5 separate regions of the Homo sapiens genome follow, and all the other regions are linked to region 4. The links are contacts of gene promoters, found by promoter capture Hi-C in human tissues and cell types (Jung and others, 2019). All regions are on one chromosome and are shown on one strand. The core of a region is centred on a gene start or on the middle of the fragment in contact, and the rest is flanking DNA. Distances in the headings are between cores, read along the strand shown. Region 1 overlaps BMPR1B (bone morphogenetic protein receptor type 1B). Region 2 overlaps BMPR1B (bone morphogenetic protein receptor type 1B). Region 3 overlaps BMPR1B (bone morphogenetic protein receptor type 1B). Region 4 holds the start of BMPR1B (bone morphogenetic protein receptor type 1B). Region 5 overlaps PDLIM5 (PDZ and LIM domain 5).

Evidence for each region. Contacts are between HindIII fragments. The study calls those that stand out against the background at their distance.
Region 1: a contact is called between a fragment that was not itself captured here and the fragment with the promoter of BMPR1B in region 4, in 1 of the 25 tissues and cell types used here (mesendoderm cells).
Region 2: a fragment that was not itself captured here is called in contact with the fragment with the promoter of BMPR1B in region 4 in 2 of the 25 tissues and cell types used here (dorsolateral prefrontal cortex and mesenchymal stem cells).
Region 3: a contact is called between a fragment that was not itself captured here and the fragment with the promoter of BMPR1B in region 4, in 1 of the 25 tissues and cell types used here (mesendoderm cells).
Region 5: a contact is called between a fragment that was not itself captured here and the fragment with the promoter of BMPR1B in region 4, in 1 of the 25 tissues and cell types used here (mesenchymal stem cells).

The regions. Positions count from the first base shown.
Region 1 is chr4:94,888,513-94,891,212 of GRCh38, reverse strand. The region is part of intron 2 of BMPR1B (bone morphogenetic protein receptor type 1B); the gene reads right to left. Among named protein-coding and RNA genes, the nearest start is that of BMPR1B, 130 kb to the right of the region's middle. The HindIII fragment of the contact is 3,317 bases long and covers 1-2,700 here.
Region 2 is chr4:94,997,488-95,000,187 of GRCh38, reverse strand. All of the region lies in intron 3 of BMPR1B (bone morphogenetic protein receptor type 1B), which reads right to left. Among named protein-coding and RNA genes, the nearest start is that of BMPR1B, 240 kb to the right of the region's middle. The HindIII fragment of the contact is 3,089 bases long and covers 1-2,700 here.
Region 3 is chr4:94,970,286-94,972,985 of GRCh38, reverse strand. The region is part of intron 2 of BMPR1B (bone morphogenetic protein receptor type 1B); the gene reads right to left. Among named protein-coding and RNA genes, the nearest start is that of BMPR1B, 210 kb to the right of the region's middle. The HindIII fragment of the contact is 6,540 bases long and covers 1-2,700 here.
Region 4 is chr4:94,756,615-94,759,314 of GRCh38, reverse strand. It overlaps BMPR1B (bone morphogenetic protein receptor type 1B), which reads right to left and starts at 1,360. Exons shown (of 13, transcript NM_001203.3): 1 at 1,247-1,360. It overlaps BMPR1B-DT (BMPR1B divergent transcript), which reads left to right and starts at 1,782. Exons shown (of 3, transcript NR_121610.1): 1 at 1,782-1,921. The HindIII fragment of the contact is 6,502 bases long and covers 1-2,700 here.
Region 5 is chr4:94,627,381-94,630,080 of GRCh38, reverse strand. The region is part of intron 8 of PDLIM5 (PDZ and LIM domain 5); the gene reads right to left. Among named protein-coding and RNA genes, the nearest start is that of BMPR1B-DT, 130 kb to the left of the region's middle. The HindIII fragment of the contact is 4,743 bases long and covers 1-2,700 here.

The DNA.
Region 1 (2,700 bases), core at 53-2,552, 130 kb before region 4:
GTGGGAAAGTGTTTAAGTTACCAAACAAGCTATTAAGTGTTTAATGTACCACACAAATACTAACCACTTACTATGTACAATGCACATATTAGGATATTGTGAGAAATATAAAGATAATATCTCAATAAAGCTATGAGAAGATATAGACAACAAAATTGCAACAATAGAAAAGGTTAAAAAACTGTTTTCCAATTACTATTTTCCAACTACATTTTAAAATAAATTAAGTTTTAGGGGCACATGCTGAACTAAAAAAAATGCAATGTTGGTCCTTTCCTTTAACCACTTCTGCTATGGACTGAATTGTGTCATCCCCAATTCATATTCCAAAGTCCTAACCCCCAATGTGATGGTACTCAGAAATGGAGCCTTTGGGAGGTAACTAGGTTTACATGAGATCATGAGGATGGGGCCCTCATGATGGGATTAGTGCCCTTACAAGAAGAGCCACCAGAGAGCATGCACTGTCTCTCTTCACCACGTAAGGACGCTGTAAGAGGGTGGCAGTCTGTAAGCTAGAAAGAGAGACCTCACCAGAATCCAACCATGTTAGCATCCTGATTTTAAACGTTCAGCTTCCAGAACTGTGGAAAAAAATAAACTTCTGTTGTTTAAGCCACCCACTCTAAAGTATTTCGTTACGGCAGCCCAAGAAGACTAGTACAACTTCTCTGATTGACTTTTATACTTTTACATTAGAATTATTCTAGGTCATAATTACACTCATGTAATTTACAGCCACAAATGTATTTTTATAATATTAAGAGGTTTGGAAGTGGAGTTAGTAAATAAATATCAATTCTTCAATTGCCAATTGTTCATAAAAGTGGGAAGAAGGAAAGAGAGAGAGAATTTTACATTTATTTAACAAGTAACTCAGAAATAAGCTTTGGGGGAGAGGGGGTTACCTCATTAGCAATAAGTGCAGACATGCAGACATTCCCCTACACAAAACCTCTTTCAGCAGCATCAGAAAGAGAATGCTTTTTGCATGTGTCACTTCTCAGGTCCAAGCCTCTAGCAGGCTTCTTGTTATATGCAATTAGCTCCACGCCAAGATTTAGTACATTTCATAATAAATCCCTTGACCACATTAACTGTAGGCTTGGCAAAGTTGGAAAGGCTCTATTCACGAAGACAGAAAACAAGCCACAGAACTTACCCCACAGCAAAACGCACTTGCTAGATGCCAACACACTACAAATTTCAACAGCCTGCCATGCCCTCCCTTCATTCCTCTCCCTCTATTTGGGGTAGAGGAGGGGTCAGAAAAATACAACCTGCCATGTGACTATGATTAAAGAGTATATAAGGGCAAAAAAAGCTACAGACAAATTTGGTGTGTTTACTTCTTCTTCCTCCTCCTCCTAAATCTTGTTACTAGCTTGTTCCTTTGACCTAACTCCCCAAACCACCCACCCAAAAAACCTAGAGTCACTTCACAGATGAGATCCAGAGTTTACCCTCATTTAAACAGTAACCATCTGTTGCCTGCAGGAAGACTGTGGCTCCTTCTCAGGTTTCCCTTTTTGGAACATGAAGGCTGTGGTATATTATGGCTATTCTGCATGGGAAAGTTCTCTGCAGGACAGCAGGAGCAATGAAAAAAGGAAGGAGGCACAGAACTAATGAGCCCTTCCGCTCATATCAAAACAAAGCACAACACCTTTTATTTGTTTTTGATAAACACCTTTTGAGAAAGAATTAAAACTACAGCAGTACAGAGAGAACATGCATGAGCTCTGGAGTTGTACAAACCCCAATTTCAATCTTAACTTGTTTTCACTTTGTCAATTAGAGCATCCGTTTCTTTATCTGAAAAACAGAGATACTACAGAGTTGACGCAGGGCCTAGAAATGTTTGGCTCAGAAAATGCTTATCATATACAAGATTAATTCTAGATATTTTATTTTGCAGTATTATTACTGGAAAAAATGTTAATCACAGGCAAATTACGATAAAAATATAGGAAGACAAAAAATAAAATATCACTATTAAAACTCCATTAAGTTCCCTTTTAGATAACACATTTGAAACATCGCCATTGTTAAAATTTACAATAAAAATTAATTAGGAGGCCTCTCTTGGATCCCCAGCAAGAGGCTCCTGGTACTGACATCCTATTCCTCTTTATTATAAATTTCTTTCTGGTTCTTTGAGGCTCCAGTATATATTTAAAATAAGAAAAAATAAGACTCTTAAAACCTGTATCTCATTTATAAAAACTATTGAAATTTTATATTATGTATTACAAATTTTAGAATGTTTTTATAGTGTCTTGCTTTTCCAGTGTAAGAAACAATGGTTTCCTTAGAGATATGATTTCCTTGGAGATATATCATTATGATATATCATGATATATTAGAAGTATATCATTAATAGCATTTCTAACAATAAAATTGATAAAATAATTTCCTACCATGTAAATAATCATACAACAAAATATCTGCAATTGGGACTAGCCTAGAAAAGTCAGGTTACTGGGTCACTTAGTTTATGGGTGCAAGCAAAAATTTACAGTCAGCCTTCCTTTGCCTCAATCCCAGCTTCATCACTTACCAGCTTTGGACCAAGGTACTATTTAATCTCTCTCTGCTTTAGTTTCCTTATCTGTAAAATGATCAATATCAGCACCCAACTCTTATAATTGTGAAAAAATTAAATAATGTTTAGAAGGTGTTTAGGACAGTGCCTGGTGC
Region 2 (2,700 bases), core at 80-2,579, 240 kb before region 4:
TTTAAATAGTAGTGGAAACTGCTGGTAGAGCACACTAAAGTAAAAATAATTAAATTAAGAAAACTATAAGTCACTCCAAATTGTTCATGAAGCTTTACACTTGTTCCTGATATATACAATATTTCATATATAATGTAAGTACTTTTATGTATGATGGGCAAATAAAATACAATTAAAGGCAAAATAAATTTTATTTTTATTGAATATCAGAGCTAAAAGAAACAGCTGCTATTTCACAACTACTTTTTTTAAACGTCAACTTCCTTCTCTTTCAACATTTCTATTTTGAGGAGCAACTTCTTCTTCTGCCTGAAATGGAATATCACCTTTCAGGTTTGAGAATTTTCAGACCATGATTTTCTATTATTTCCTTAAAACCCGAACTATCTCTGCCCCAGTAAATGAAATTTGAAGGTTTACTAGTAATACTGGGAGCAATTTCATTCTGCAATTCTCCCGGCTACATGAGGATGGACCTATTCTCTCCTGAAGCTCTCTCTGGGCCTTTTGGAAGGCATGACACTGTCTTTAGTTTGCTAGGGCATCACTTAATTTACCACAGCAGTCAACACGGCCACAGCAACTAGCTGGTTTTTTTGACAGACTTCACCAAATTAATTACATAAACAGCATTTTTGGAATATGTATCCTGAATTTTTATTTGCTAACCAATATCATTTTGACTCTTGTTACCCAAATAAACTTATGAGTTCAGCAAATATCTATTTTCATGGTTACACACACACACACACACACACACGCACAACACTGATTGGTCCTAGAAAAAGAAACAAAATAATTTTTTAATTATTATTACCAATATGTACCATCTACTTGAGAGGCTTTCCTTCAATCTAATGAATCAAAATTGTAAAATATTTTAAAGTGAAAGGGGTATAAAGAAAATTATGTTTAAAATAAGTATGATAAAGTTTTTGTTTACTTCAAATTCTGGGACACTTGTTATATGCTAGGTCTTGGGGAAGCATAAAAGAATTAAATTTAAAAATCTGGCCATAAATAGATTACAGTCTCAGGCAGAAACAAAAACATAAAACACTATATTACCAAGCTTTGCAAAGTACTGGGACAGAGATTTATACAGGAGGCCAAGTCACAGAGTCTGAGATTAGACCAGCAGGACTTTCTCCATTCAGGCTAGAAGGCAAAGATTGGGAAAAGGGTTTTCAAGATAGAACAGCATAAATGATACAAGAAAAAAGCAATGCAATGTGGATTGTTTTGAGAAATAGGAGATGTTGAATACTGCCAGCAAATAAAATGGAGAGAAAGGGGAATATTCTCATGGATGGGCAAGAGAGATACAGACAACAGCCCAAAAGGAACGGCAGAAGATTAATATAGAACAAAAGTAGAAGGTATATGAACAAGAGACTCATAGTAAAGCCTGGTCTTTATCTATAAGCAGTAGAAAGACAGGGATGGGAGGGTTTTAGATTAAAAGCAATGGGTTCATCAGGGTGGAAGATTGACCCTTCTAAAAGTAATGCAGCAGGCTGGGCGTGGTGGCTCACACCTGTAATCCCAGCACTTTGGGAGGCCGAGACAGGCAGATCACCTGAGCTCAGGAGTTTGAGACCAGCCTGACTAACATGGAGAAACCCTATATTTACTAAAAATACAAAATTAGCTGGGAATGGTGGCGCATGTCTGTAATTCCAGCTACTCGGGAGGCTAAGGCAGGAGAATCGCTTGAACCCAGGAGACGGAGGTTGCAGTGAGCTAAGATCGCGCCATTGCACTCCAGCCTGGGCAACAAGATTGAAATTCCATCTCAAAAAAAAAAAAAAAGGAGTAGTGTAGCAGCTGGACTACTAGTAGAACAAATATGACTCTAGGGCAGTGAGATCCATGAGGAGGCTAATATTAATATTTCAAGCTAAATTCATTCACATTGCTTCAATAGATACTTAACACATAATACAAAAGGTGCCATTTTCATTTTGTATAATATACCTGCATATAAAATATTATTTATAAATATGATAACCAATGTCAGGATGGACTACAGAGCCAAAAATAATACTGACAAGGCATTTCAAGTTTTAAAACACTCAACCAGTCTTCAAACAAAATACATCCTAATGTAGACATTATCAACCAGTGTCACAATTTTGTATTTCTTCTTGATTTAAAGGAAAACTTTCTTTAGTTTCTTCTTATTGTAGTTCTTTATTTGCTTGCCTTGTTTTCTGCCCAAATTTCAACAAGGTACTTCAGAAACAAGACACCAGAAGGAATAAAAACAAAACCAATAAAAAGGGGTAAGAAAGCAATTATCATGCTAGTATTTATGCAAAATATAAAGCAAAAAATAAAAGATACTGAATAAAAATCTGAAATTACAATCTTGATCATGAGATATTACTCAAAGGCAAAAGCAAATAAAAATTGATTGATGAACTTAGCCAGTTAGATTCTATAACTGGGAAATGCCCATTCTAGATCAATCATGGTTGTATTTTCAAAATAAAGATATTGTCAAAAATCTAAATCAAACCCACTAATAAAATGGAAATGGTAGGCAGAATTGGAAGAAGTACAAAGATTCACATGATAAAACAAGCATTAAATGAATGTTAAAATACAGTTTAAGCTATCAATTAGATTAGCCTTAAGGTATTTCTGAAGTAATAAAATTAATTTTGAAACATTTTGCATCATTTGAAAAGTTATATA
Region 3 (2,700 bases), core at 163-2,662, 210 kb before region 4:
TTGTTCCTGCCAACACCCAAAAGCACTCGCTCTGGTTCCAGCACTCGTTTGCTCACACACTCCCTCTCACAAGGGGTAGACAGGGGCAGGCTGAATAAATGAGGCACCCCTGTCCTGAGTCCCTTGAAGGTGTCAAGAAAATACCCTGCTTCATTACCATAATAATTCTAATATTTAAATAATTTAAGGCCAGCATTATCTCTATTTTATGAATGGAGAAACTGAATAGCATAAAGTTACAAATCCAGAAACAGTTATATCCAGAGCTGAAACTTGCATAGGTCTGACTCTAAAGTTCGTACTCTTTCCACTGTCATGTTCACTGATAATTATATCCACTTATAAGACCAAAAAAAAAATGGAAGAAACCTAAGTGACCAATGATGAAATATTATGCAAATGTTTAAAGTAAAATTTAGAAACCTGAGATAAGTTCAAGGTAAAACATAAGAGTATTACAAAATCAAATTACAGAAACACATACAATATAATATTATGAACATGTATGGGTATGTACACCTAGGAAAAGTAATGAAAAAAAAATTAACCAAAATGTTATCTGTGGTTGTATCAAGTAATAGAACTAATGAATATTTCATTTTTCCCTTATAGTGTCTATGTTTTTCAAATGTATTAAAATGAGTATACATTTATTTAAAAGTCATAATAAAGTTATCTTTTTAAAGAGCAAATAAACAAGTTAGCTAATGTTACAGCTAGCAAGAGAAGAAATTGAACACAAATTATATATTTTAAGTAGATTTTATTCTCCCCAAAATACTCTGTAAAGAAGAGAAGAGTTCATGTTATCCAGTGAATTGATTATAGTTTTCCTTTACCGCATCATTTATTGTAGAAAAAATAAGCAGACTATTAAGAGGTAAATAAGAATTTTGTACATACTATAATTTGCAATGATACTATTAAGTTTGAATAATTAGTTCCTCTATTTCCTTTATTGATTCTCAGAACAAATTTATATCAAATGATCACTCAAACCATCAACATAAATACAATGTAATGTCAAAATTAAATGGCCTTGGAATCATTTAAGAGGCTCATCATTACTTTTAAATAAGATACTATACTTCTACAACTTTTATTTATAGCATCTTTGTCTTGAACATGAAAAATTTAAGGAGAGAAACTACCTATATTAGTTTAAAATTATAGGAGTATATAAGAAATAAACTGTCCAAACTTCCAATTTCATGGTCATAAACGTATTTAATGAGATATTTTACTGCTAATAAAATTTAGATTAATCTTGAAATTTATAGATGAAGATACTAGATGCTTAAAAAGCTCATATTTTATTTTAAAAATCTTAAATATTCTAGTAATATTAAATATTTAAAGGAGTAAGTCTATCAATAAATAAGCAGTAAGAGGAAAAAGAGTTATTAGATTTGATCTTTATGATGACAAGCTAAGATCAGGAAGAGAAGTAGAGAGTGAGCACTGCCTGCAATTGAGGCACCTCTGAATTAAATTAAAATATTGTATGTTTAACCATCACACTTTTATTGTAATATGAAACTTAGCACTACAATTAACTGACATGGGTGACAGATGATGAGACCGAACTATTTTTCCTTAAAGTGACAAGTAAAATAATAACATACCCTTAGTAGGTTTTATTTTTAGCAGTGATTAATTCAATTAATACATATGTTGTCAAATGCCAATGGGATACACTCTTTTCCAAGCAATAGACCTACTCATATTTTTTTCCACTCAAGTGAAACTTAACTCATCTAAAACACATCCATTACTAGAGGGAAAAAAGTTGTTTTTATTTATCGTATTTCATGGTCCAGTTCTCTTATTTCACAAGTACTGAAACTGAGTGCCAGTTTCCAAAACATTGAAACATAAGTAATTCATCAAATGTAAAAATCATTATTGATATTGCTGCACCACCATTTTAGGTAGCACTGAAAGGGAAAAAAGCTTCAATTGTTGTATGATGTCATTAGGACAAATCCCAAATTCAGTGACTGTAAAATGTATTAAGACTGTGTGTCTTAGGAGCAATTAAATAGTGGGTAGTTGATTTTAATGAATTTAAAGAGTTCATCCAAAAAAATGTAACTTAAAGGGCTATAAAAAAAATAGTGTTCAGTAGCAGGATGAAGCAACTATAGTCAACAATCATCGCATATTTCATAATAGCTGGAAGAGAAGATTTGGAATGTTCCCAAAACAAAGAAATGATAGGTGTTTCAGGTGATATATATCCCAATTACTGAGATTTAATCATTACACATTGTGTGATGCTATCAAAATATCACATATACCCCATAAATATGTACAACTTTTATGTACCCATAAAAATTAAAAATAAAAAAAACTTTAAAACAGAAATGAACAGGCCGGGTGTGGTGGTTCATGCCTGTAATCCCAGTACTTTGGGAGGCCAAGGCAGGCAGATTGCCTGAGGTCAGGAGTTCTTGACCAGTCTGACAACAGGGCGAAACCCTGTCTCTACTAAAAATACAAAAAGTAGCAGGGCATGGTGGCGCGCCTGTAGTCCCAGCTATTCGGGAGGCTGAGGCAGGAGAATAGCTTCAACCCACGAGGCAGAGGTTGCAGTGAGCCGAGATCGTGCCACCACACTCCAGCCTGGGTGACAGAGAGTGAAACTCCGAAAGAGAAAAAGAGAGAAAGAGAGAGAGAAAGAAGAGAAGAGAAGAGAAG
Region 4 (2,700 bases), core at 111-2,610:
TTAACACATTTTCTTTATCTGTTGGAGGTAGTGAAACGGCTCTCTTCCTCCGTTGTCTTTCACTGGCACCTTTGTGGCCGCTCGTAGTCACTGACCTCACCTTGCTGGAAAGGTGGCTAAGAAAAGAGCAGTTTCTAATAACTCAAGGGAACTGCAGCGTTTCCATTCAGAACAAACAGCAGGACCCAGCTGGAGGGGTGCAGCTCTAAAGAAGTAAGACCCGCACCACAGCGGACAACTTCCAGAGGCTCTTCTCCAACACCGCCAAACACAGGCGGAAACACGGAGCCTGGACAGAAAGAGGGACGAGCAGAGAGATGGGCGCAGAGAGCAAGAGACAGGGGAGCCAGGAAGACCGGGAGCGAAAGCCTCTTGAGAGAGAGAGAGAGACCAAAAGATTGTGCGAAAGTGACAGAGGGAAGAGGATGAAGGGACAGAGGAGGGACACACTGGGAGAGCCAGAGCAGGCGGTGGGGAGAGGGAGACAGACGCACGGAAGGAAAGAGAGACCGGGGGGAGAGGCAAAGGATAGCAATAAGGAGAGGAAGGGAGAAAGGAAGAAAAGGGAGAGAATGAAAGACCCAGAACTTGAGAGAGAGGCATAGAGAGAGAGAAGCAGGAGAGAGAGGAGAAGAGACAGGCAACTGAAGCAGAGACGGAGCCCAGTCCAAGGCGCCGGGACCAGCCCGCTGCGCACTTTCCCCCACGGCAAGGCTGGGTCTCGGGAGGCGTCCGGGGCAGGTGGGTGCCTGCGGGTCCCGCCTGGGCTGGCCCTGGGCCCCCGCCCCGCCGGGCTCCCTCCCATTTCCCGGATTCCGCGACTGCCCTCAGCTCGCCCTCCCGCCCCATCCCTCCGCTCGCAGGTCCGACTCCCTGCCTTGGGGCGTCCCTACAGCCCGAAGCACGTGTCCCGCCCGCCGCCGCCGCTGCCCCGACTCCTCGCCTGCGCAGGCACGAGGCCTCGGGGTCCCGGCAGAGCCGCCCGCGCACAAAGCCGAGGCGGCCACCGCCTGACCCCCTCCCCGCCGCCGCCACCGCCCCACGGCCGCGCAGCCCGCCCTCGCTCTCGCCCTCTCCCTCGCGCGCTCCGTCCTGCCTAGGGCGACCGCCGCCCAGCTCCGCACCCAGCCGCTACCCGTCCCGCGCCGCCCCTCGCTCTGCCCGGCTCTCGCCGGCTCGGCCGCCTCCCGCGCGCTCGGGAACTCGGCCACCCGCAGGGGACGGGGCCCCGCCGCGCGCGCCTTACCCGCGGCTGCGCTCCCGGCTCCCGCGTCCTCAGCGCCGCGGTCTCCGCACTGCCCGGCGTCCCGCGAGGCCCCGCCGACTCCGCGCCCCGCGCCCGGCTGCGCCGTCAACTTCTGGCCGCCGCGGCCGCTCCGCCGCCGCCGCCGCCGCCACCGCGGGACTTTTTTTTTTTTTTTTTTTTTTTTTCCCTCTCGCTCCTCGGCTGCCTCTGGAATTTTTTTTTTTCACTTGCCCTCTCCAGCTCCCACTAGTGATTGGAGACTGAGAGCCAAGTACTTAGCGGAGGGATTACACTTCTCAACGCACTTGGAGCGGCCCCAGCGCCGCCGCCTGTGTGCGGAGTGCGGAGCCGACTTGGGGAGCGGCGGGGTGCGGGCCGGAGGCAGCCCGGGTACAGGGGTGCGCTTCCCAAGCCCCGTCCGCTGCTCAGAGCATCCCCAAGATTTCCCTCATGGGTCCTGTCCTGGTTGTTTAAGAAGGTTTCCAGAAAACCTCCTGGTTTGAAGAACAAAGATTCGTGGAATTATTGTACCTTGAGAGCTGGAAAGGGCTCGCAGAGATGATATAATGTCGTGGATTTCAACTTTTCGGGGCCATAGACACTTTTCAGAAATTGATAAAACGTTGACACACCTTGTAAAAAATGAACACATTAAAATTAAGCCTGCAGTTTGAGGTGGGGGTTTTAAGAATCTTGAAATATATACAGTTGAGCGTCCAAGGGAAATGAAATATTTCCCTTCTACATATTTTTTGAAACCGTTAAACGAAAACAACCACCAAAAAATTAAAAATAAAAAAATAAAACCCAAAAGAGAAAACCCATTCCATTTGTATTTGATGACAGTTTACAGTTAGTCGTGTTTCTTTTGGAAAAGTATGTAACGTCTTATACTTTGTGGTCTCCTTGCTAAGTCTTTAAGTGTTGAAACACTTTCTAAGTGGGTAAATATAAAGTAAGCTAGTTCACAGTCAGAAATTTGGGGAGAATAGTTAACCTCTTTAAAATCAGCCATTTTGCCAACTCTATTTCCCAGGGAGATATCTCGTGACTTCCAAATACTCTTTTCCTTTCAATACCTTTCAGCTTCCCACTCTCCAGCATTACTTATTTTCTCCTTCTGTAAAATTTTTTTCCTCCAAAATATTGACAAACAGTCTCTGGTCACCACCAAGTGTGTGATCTAAGTCATTTTTTTTTTTAACAGTTTTTCACCCTGAAGTAACTTTCTTCCAATTTTCTTCATATCTATTTCTATATTCAATTCTTAGCCTACTATTTTCTTTCAACTACTCCCTTTTCTTAAATTGTTTCTATTAAATCTTTTTTAAACATTAAATGTAATCTTTTTGCACTTATCAATAAAAAATTCATTTGTGTATCAATTTATTTTATGCAGCTTGCACTTAAAGCAGGCGGTGCCCCCAGTGTTTATTGAGTGTATGAAGATGTGG
Region 5 (2,700 bases), core at 163-2,662, 130 kb after region 4:
CATGCTTGCATACTATTGTGTGCAGCAAGTGCTTTCTTCTCTGCCCCTTCCCCAGCCATCTCAAACAGATGGTGGCCAACAGAAGCAAAGAATATGTGCATTTTGTCTGTCAAGCTCCTTATGCTGAAAGCCTAAACAATAGTCTACTCTTCATAATCCAGGCATGAAATCATATCCAACAGAAATGGAGACAGTTAAGCCAAGATCTGGGATCAGAGGAAAGTACATTCTGGAGACGATTGTGCAATTTTTAAAAAATGAAATCAGTGATTAAAAGCAAATTGGACAGATTAAACTATTACCATTTCTCTAAGCAGTGGAGAATGCTGGTATGTTTGCTATAAAGCACTGGAACAGGTGCACCCAAGTCTAAGTATCAAATATTTCCACATCTTCAGGAGGCTAGCTTCTTCCATTAGCAACCAGCCTTTCAACTTTAAGAACGCAGATTAAACTGGATCTACAATATCTTAATTAAAGTGAGTGTGGGGACTTGGATTATGTTCATTTCTCTTTTTAATTTCTTATATCACACATAACCAAAATTCATGCCTTTTTCTCCTAGCTGATCTTATATAGAAAACTTCCATTTGGTCAGAGATACAAGTAAAAGCAACCCAGTATGTACCCTGAAGATAAAGATATGAGATCTTAACATATCTGGTTCTACCAGCATTCAATTAAGTCAACAAATTATTTACCACAATATACACACAGAATTTTCTTTCTTTCTTTATTTTTTTTTTTGAAACTGAGTCTCGCACAGTGCAGTGGCGCGATCTCGGCTCACTGTGACCTCCGCCCCCCAGGTTCAAGCAATCCTCCTGCCTCAGCCTCCCAGGTAGCTGGGACTACAGGCACACGCCACCACGCCCAGCTTATTTTTGTATTTTTAATAGAGATCGGGTTTCACCATGTTAGCCAGGATGGTCTCAATCTCCTGACCTAATGATCTGCCAGCCTTGGCTTCCCAAAGTGCTGGGATTACAGGCATGGGCCACTGTGCCTGGCCCAGAATCTTCTAAATCATCTTAATATCACTGTTCCATTTTCTACTTAGAGTGGGAAGACAAGTCTATGCTTTTATTGTAGGAGGCCAATGGGCTTCATTTTCTTAAAAAAAGGAAAAGAAATAAAAAAGAATAAAATTGAAATATTAAAAAAACAAAACAAAACTGAGACATAATGCATGACCTCAGGAATACTAAAGAGGATCAATGGTAAACTCATGCAGACTTTGTAAGCTTAGAATATATTTAAAATATTAAATTTGTACAATTTTGCTCATATTTGGATGAGAAAACCATAAGGACATACATTAAAATCATTTTATACTCATATTATGTCTAGAGTTCTGACATGTCTTACTTCCAAAGTCACACGAAAGCTACATGGGTTTGGCTTTTACCATTTTCCCACCAATTTTCAACTATTTATACAAATAAGAAAGCAGCCTAATTTCAGAAATGAAGGAGAAAGGTACCTACAGTTTAAGTTGACCACATAAATAGAGTTCTAATCATGTAGGGGAAAAAAAATGAAGCAGGAAAAAAAAAAAGAGATATTTTAAGATTTCTCAATGTCAATATCTACAACGTCTCTAATGATGAATACAAGTTATTGTAAAATTTAAAAATTGGGATACTCCTTAAATTTCTATTACTACCACTAATTCTCTAAGATATCTCTCAATTAAAGTCATTAGCTCTCCAAAATAAATGATACTTTATCATTTTTCAAAGTTATGTTTGAATTTAGCATCTTTTAAAAGCAGAGATGGTAGGTCAGCTATTTTATGGTGGAAGAAGCAGCACATCTAGCATAAAAACTAAATTTCAAGATACATAGGCTCCTAGTTCTGGGCTTTCTAGCTGTGATGTTAGAAATGTCATCATTCTGGGTCTTAAGTTACCTCATCTGTAAAACAGCAATAATAACTACCTCAAAGGGTGAGAGGATTCAATGAAGTAGTAAAAGTGTTTACTTATACTTCCTTGAATCTGTAAGAAATGCTTCATACATGTCAATTATTATTACACTCTGACATAAGATCTTACATAGTTAAAAAATAAAACATCCACTCATTCAACAACTACTTAGTACATACAACGTTTTAGATGTAAGAATTCTTCTGGTGTGGAAGATACATTTAAGGATAAGATATCTGCCCAGAAAGAGTTTATCTTCTTAAAGACACTACAGACAAGCAAATAGGCAATCACAGTATCTCAGGACTAGTGCTACCAAGGGTGCTGATGGCTGTCAATAAAGTCTGCAACTAACCATGCAGAATTATCAAGCATTGTTATTCTTATTCATGCGTTTGAAAACCAGTGTTAACAAAACTTTTTCTGTAAAGAGCCAGAGAATAAATATTTTAGGCTTTGTGGGCCTTACAGACTCTTGCAATATTCAACTCTGCCATTGTGGCATGAAATCAGCCATAAACAATACGTAAACAACCGTACCGTAGCTGTTTTCCAACAAAACTTCATTCACAAAAATCAGTGGTGGGCCAGATGTGACCAAGGAACACCATTTGCCAAACTTTGGTTTAAACCATATGCATCAATTAATAGAACAATTCTTTATGAAAAGCATATATGAACAAATGTAGATGTCTGCCTTATAAAAAGTTTAATATTTTAATCTCAGAAAGAGAAGAAAATGGGGAGAAAGAACAGCTTTCACAGATGAAGC